Linked DNA regions of Homo sapiens: region 1 is linked to region 2. The links are contacts of gene promoters, found by promoter capture Hi-C in blood cells and fetal thymus (Javierre and others, 2016). All regions are on one chromosome and are shown on one strand. The core of a region is centred on a gene start or on the middle of the fragment in contact, and the rest is flanking DNA. Distances in the headings are between cores, read along the strand shown.

What was found. The method cuts DNA at HindIII sites, captures the fragments that hold promoters and counts their contacts. A CHiCAGO score of 5 or more calls a contact.
Region 1: a contact is called between a fragment that was not itself captured here and the fragment with the promoter of HSDL1 in region 2, in 1 of 17 cell types (M0 macrophages). The highest score is 5.0, in M0 macrophages.

Annotation. Positions count from the first base shown.
Region 1 is chr16:83,975,085-83,978,274 of GRCh38, reverse strand. All of the region lies in intron 2 of NECAB2 (N-terminal EF-hand calcium binding protein 2), which reads right to left. Among named protein-coding and RNA genes, the nearest start is that of NECAB2, 8.4 kb to the right of the region's middle. The HindIII fragment of the contact is 1,086 bases long and covers 885-1,970 here.
Region 2 is chr16:84,143,751-84,147,006 of GRCh38, reverse strand. HSDL1 (hydroxysteroid dehydrogenase like 1) reads left to right here and starts at 1,830. Exons shown (of 6, transcript NM_031463.5): 1 at 1,830-1,927. DNAAF1 (dynein axonemal assembly factor 1) reads right to left here and starts at 1,699. Exons shown (of 12, transcript NM_178452.6): 1 at 1,443-1,699. The coding sequence starts at 1,566. RefSeq lists silencers at 1,646-2,095, 2,256-2,305, 2,356-2,405. The HindIII fragment of the contact is 7,366 bases long and covers 1-3,256 here.

The DNA.
Region 1 (3,190 bases), core at 178-2,677, 170 kb after region 2:
TTTAGATAATCCCTACCCACCCAGCTAATTCCCACACTAACCAGTAAACTCCAGTACACAGAGAATCATGCCTCATCCAGCTAATTCCCAGACCAATGCCTGTTTACAGATAATCCTCAAACTAACAATAATGCAATAGCTAGCTTTCTTGGGCTCACCATGCACTCAACATTTTCCATGCGTTCAACAAATATAGAGTATCTGCCCCCTGCCAGTGAATTTTCTCTCAATTTACATGGCCACCTGGAGGCAGGTGCTATTTAAGATAACCCACTGTGAGCAACTTGTCCCATGTCACACCATCGGTATGAAGTGGATCCAAAAACCAGCAGCTGGATGAGCCACCACTCCATAGCTTCCAAACGCCAAGTGGTCTCTGCATGCTCCCAACCCCAATCCCAGCCCCTAAGCCCTGACTCTCTCAGCACTGTTCTTAGAGTACAGAAGAACCCTTTCTTCTCCGCCCCATCTATGTGGCAAACTTCAGGTCCTTCCCTGAGGCAGCATGAGATGGCTGCCAATGGCCGGCATGAGGTTCTCAGTTACCTCCTCTCCCAGGCCACAGATGCAGCCATCTAGATGCCAAGCCATGCAGGAAGGAGGTGCCAGGCCTGGAGGTGCCAACGCTCTGGCCAGAGGCTGTGCTTCTGAGGTGGAGCTCCACAGAGGGGCCTCCACAGCTCCTCTGTGGAGGGGCTCTGTGGAGGGATGGGTGGGACACATGCCACCAGTCCCACCCATCGCCTCACCTTTTCCCTTCACTTGCAGTTGCTCTGGGGACACTTTTGGCCCTACCAGGAAGGTCTTGTGGGTTTGGATCAGATTGGGCCACCAGGGGAGGTGGCTTAAGAACATCAGGGACTCTGGGAGGCGGTCCCTAAGCTTCCACCCTCAGCTCCTTCCACCTGAACAGACCTGCTGAGCAAATGCCAGCAAGCTCATCCCCCACCTGCCCTGCAGCCACCTCCCCCCTCCTCAAGGATCTGTTCCTCCTTAAGAGAAACTATGTGAGTGGCATGGAGGTCAGAGACAAGAGGGAGCCCATGACAGTTCCTGGCCCCCAGCCTCTCTGCATAAACCCCTGGCATTACTTCCAGAGGATCTGCATTCAAAGCTGGGTGCTTGGGACAAGGGCCCTGAGAGTCCACATGGCACCTTCCTATGGATTAGAAAAAGACTCTCCTTTCTCTGCCGAGAGGATGAGACCAGTGTCAGTGCACATGTGTTGAAAGCGGATTGCAGCCTGGATTTGAAACCCTCCATTTCCTCGGGTGGGTGCCCTTGTGCAGCGCACAACCTGCCTAACCCGACATGGCAGACGTACTTGGGTTGAGAATGAGTCATTCTTAAACTTTAAAGGCTCCAGTGCTTCTGTCTGTGCTCCCAGCAGCTCTGCTGGAGCTCAACACAGGGTGAGAGCATAAGCTCAGGAGAGGGGGGGTCCTCAGATCTTGCCAAGGTTTCATGCCACCACTTTTCTCTTTAACCCCATAGAGCATAAAGTATCAGAGACCGGTAAAGAATATGAACGTGTGGGCACGGGGGGCTAGGGCCAATATCCCAAGATGCCCCCATCGCAGCTCAGATTTCAAGGTTACAGTGGGAAGAATTTCTGTCTTTCAAAGGAAAGGCCAAAAAAACCCCAATCCAACCACACATGCACAAACCAAAGACCCAAAACCTAACAACTAAAAGTCCGCAAAGTCAGCCACGAGATAAGTGAAATCGAAGTTGTTGCTTTCTGTGTTCTGTGACAGAGGATGCCTTCCGAGTGTCTTCGGCAAGCCTGAAGATAAAACCCAGGAATCCCAGTGTGGAGTCACACCACACGTGGAGTACCTTCCACGGACTCACTCCTTTAGTCTTCTTAACACTCACGACACAGGTAGTACTACCACTTCCATGTTAGAGAGGGGTAAACTGAGGCACAGAGCCCTTAGGGTACTTGCCTAGGTCCTACAGCTGAAGCTTGAACCCAGGCCATCTGGCTCCCAAGTCCAGGCTCTCAACCTAATCCAGGGGTAGGATCTTGTGGCGACATCGCCACCTACCCAGCAGGGGGTGGGTGCTGGCTCAGGCACCCCCACTTTGGGTGAGGGGCAGTCACCATGGGCATGACAGGGGTTGTGAGCCCCAATCCCAGCCTCCCTCTGGCTGGCTCATCTCCCCACGTGCCTGTCCAGGTACCTTGGGCCCCCTCTGCACACAGGGAGAGCAGGCAGCCAGAGACCAGCAAGGTGCCCCCTCGGCACACAGGGAGAGCAGGCAGACAGAGGCCAGCAAGGTGCCCCCTCACTAAGCTTTCGGCTGACATTTATCCTGAACGCCTGATCACGGCCCTAATGAATTCACTAATGAGGAAAAAACATGCCCTACGTAGGCCCCCAGTCCAATTAGACAGGCCAAGCGGGCCCGCGCTGGCACTTTTGCCAGAGACCCCAAGCGGGCCGTTTGCAGGTGTCTTTGCTAATTAGCACAAACTCACTCTCTGTCTCCATGACCTTTCAAATGCCAAGAGCCTGTCAGCCTGTCAGCGTCCATGTCCCTGAAGGGAAATGCTGTCTGCCACTCAGCCCTCTGCCACCCCCTGAGTTTATGTCCCAGGCTGCCAGTCAGGCCCCTCATGCTAACCTTCCCATAGGGACTGGGCATCCGGTATCCAGCTCAGCCAAACAAGTCTCTGTCACAGGAGCCACCCTGACAGGGCAGCCCTGAGCCTTTGTTCCTGTAATCTCTAAGTCCTAAGGGCAGCCTGGGGGGTCCTTTGAGTTTGCACCCCATCTCCCGCTCCCCTGAGGCATCCCATCCATCCTTCCTGTGGACACGTGAGGCAGGGCTAGCGTCAGTGTTGAGCAGTCCTGTGTGTGCTTGTGGGCCTATCGGCCTCCACATCTGCACCCCCTGCACACCTGTTCTCATCCCTGCACACCTGTTCCCATCCCCGCACCCACACCTCCCTGCACACCTGCTCTCATCCCTGCACACCTGTTCCCATCCCCGCACCCACGCCTCCCTGCACACCGGTTCACATTCCCGCACCAACACCTCCCTGCACACCTGTTCCCATCCCCGCACCAACACCTCCCTGCACACCTGTTCCCATCCCTGCACCCACACCTCCCTGCACACCTGCTCTCATCCCTGCACACCTCCCTGCACACCTGCTCTCATCCCTGCACACCTGTTCTCA
Region 2 (3,256 bases), core at 581-3,080:
TGGCTCCAAGACCAGTGTCTTTCCACTGAGTAATGCCAGTTCCCTATGGCTCCTCATACAAGGTTCATCTGGACAGTTGATGCTTAAGATATATTTGTTGCCTGGAACACAAATCAGCTGGTTTATTTGTTGCCTGCGTTCAGAAACTGGAACACAAATCAAGTGGTTTTTTAATGTAATCACTAAAAGGTTTCCTTTAGGGCACCAAGTCTAGTGGGAGCAGAAGCTGAAGCCAGGCTTCCTTCTTTCCTTTTTTTTTTTTGAGACGGAGTCTTGCTCCATTGCCCAGGCTGGGGTGCAGTGGTGTGATCTTGGCTCACTGCAGCCTCAGCCTCCCCCTTGGCTCACTGCAACCTCTGCCTCCGGGGTTCAGGGAATTCTCCTGCCTTAGCCTCCCAAGTAAGTGGAATTACAGGAGCACGTCACCACGCCCTGCTAATTTTTGTGTTTTTAGCAAAGACAGGGTTTCAATATGTTGGCCAGACTGGTCTCGAACTCCTGACTTCAGGTGACCCACCTGCCTCTGCCTCCCAAATTGCTGGGATTACAGGCGTGAGCCACCGTGCCTGGCCATGAAGGTTATCTTTCAAGTCCATTCTGGCAAACTTTGGTGAGGGGATCACACACTGACCCCAGAACCAAGTCTTCATTCGGACTCTCTACCCTAGGTCAGGCACTGGACTAGACTCCAAATTCAATCAAGATGTCTTGCCCTGACACAACATGCAGTCTGGAGGGAGAGAAAGCCTTTGATCTTACATAGTGATAGCAATAAAGGGACACATTTAAAGCATCAAAGTTGGGACCAGGGAGAATAGCGTGGTGGGTTAGGGCTGGGGCTCTGGAGACCCAGACTGTCTGGGCCTGAGTCTGGTGGGTTTTGTTTGCTTGTTTGTTTGTTTGTTTGTTTGAGACGGAGTCTCCCACTGTCGTCCGGGCTGGAATGCAATGGCGAGATCTTGGCTCACTGCAACCTCCGCCTCCCGGGTTCAAGCGATTCTCCTGCCTCAGCCTCCCAAGTAGCTGAGACTACAGGCGCCCGCCACCACGCCCAGCTCATTTTTTGTATTTTTAGTAGAGACAGGGTTTCACTATGTTGGCCAGGCTGGTCTCGAACTCCTGACTGACCTGATGATCCGCCCGCCTCGGCCTCCCAAAGTGCTGGAATTACAGGCGTTGAGCCACCGCACCCGGCCAAGTCTCTTCTGTCACTGACTAGCCGAGGGTTATCTGTTTGGTGCAAGTTTTGTAACCTCTTAAGTATGTTTCCTCCTCAGTACGAAATGGCGAGAGAAGCCCCTACTGCAGAGCGTTGCTTGCTACCATTATTATTATTGTTATTATTTGGCTGTGAAGATCGGGTATGTGGTGTGGGAAGGGGGCTGGAGCGCCTAGCCGTGTCTGCCCCTCGCCCACCGCCCTCCCTGGGGGGCAGTCGGCACCTTCCTTGCAGCCCCCTCGGCCTGCGCTCCCGTGGTCACCCGCAGACTCCTCCACGCCGGGCTCCTGCGCGCAATCCAGCTCTGCTGCACCACCTGTCGCAGGCTCCGAGGGCTCAGGGTGCATGTTTACTTCGGCGACACCGAACGCCCCGCAGCTTTGGGGGGCCCAGGTTCGCGGCGGACGTCGCTACGGCCCCAGCCCAGCCAGAGAGTACCCTCTTTCCTTCTTCGCCAGCCGCTGGCGCCCTAGTCTTTACAGCCCAACGCTTCCCCGGTCGCCCAGGCAACCGCTGCGCACGCGCACTCGGGACGGACCGGCGCGCTGGGGACGCCGGGGGGTGGGGGCGGGTCTGAGACGGCTCCGCCCCCGGCGCGTACGCGGGTCACGTGAGGGCGCGGCGCGGCAGCAGCTCCGGCGGCCGAGACGGGGGCGGCGGCCGCGCGGGTCTGGCGGGACCGGTTTGGAAGACTTTGCCGGCCTGCAGGTACCGCGCCCCCCGCGCCCTGGGCGCCCTCTCGCGGTCCTTTCGCCCCAGACCCCTCCTCGGTCCCCTCAGCGCCAGCCGGCTGCTTGGCGAGACCCCTCTGAGCTCTCACCACGCCCCCCAGGCCCCGGGCCCCCTCCGCTGCATCCGGCCCCGAAGCCCCTTGGCGCCCCTGACCCCAGGAAATCTTCGTCCCTCCGTCCCGTGAGACTCCTTCCTTCAGACCAAAAAGCCCCAGCCCCGCCCCTTCACATCTCAGAGCCCCCCTTCCCCCGGCTCCATCCTCACGCCCCCCGCCGCGGCGCTGCACCCCTGTTCTCTCTCTTCCCCCGGGCCTTGCCCCCCAAACCGCGAACCCCGTTGTCGCCGGCGCATGCCCTGCCCTCCCTGCAGCCTCTCACCCGGCTCCTCCCCCGAGCGGCCCCAGCAATCGCCTCCTTTGTCGGTGCTTCTTTATTCTCATTTCTGAACGATTTGGTTTGAGTTGTTGTTGCCGTGTTTTTCTAAAATGGAAATATGCAGCGGTCGTGGGTTCAGCCAGGATTTCCGAGTTTGCTCGTGTTGACTGGGCCTTGCCGGGTGCTGGAGGGGAAGGGCTGGGAAGAAGAACCAGGCAGGTCCCCGTTCTGAACGTGCCACCCAGACGCAGCCCCAGAAACCGGATCGCTGCAGCGCCCCTCGGCGATCCCAACATGATGTGTACAGGTGACTGCGAGGCAGTCGGGGGGTCTCACAGTGGGCTCCCTGGACAGGACTCTGCGCCTTGCTATACCTCCATCTGAATTGCAGGTAGCCCCTTTCTGAGTTGTGGGGTCTTGGGTGTGCGACTTTACATCTATAAGACTCAATTTCCCCATCTATAAACGGGAGAGTCTGACTGCGCTTTATAAGATTAATGAGAGAATAAAGTGAGACAATAGGAATAAAGCACTTAGCAGAGTCTTTTGCATAAAGTGAGCTCTCAATTTTACTCTGACCGCCACAGGAGAGAGAGAGAGAGAGAGAGGGAGGGAGGGAGAGGGAGAGGGAGGGGGAGGGGGAGGGTGTTGATTGATTGATTGATTCAGACAATCTCGCTCTGTCGCCCGGGCTGTAGTGCAATGGTGCCTGCGATCTCAGCTCCTGCTACCTCTGCCCGCCATCCCGCACCCCGGGCCCAAGTGATTCTCCTGCCTCAGCCTTCCGAGTAGCTGGGATTACAGGCACGTTCTACCACACCCAGCTAATTTTTTTTTTTTTTTTTTTAGTAGAGACGGGGTTTCGCTGTGTTGGTCAGGGTAGCCTTGAACTCCTGGCCTCAAGTGATCTGCCCGCCTTGGCCTCCCAAAG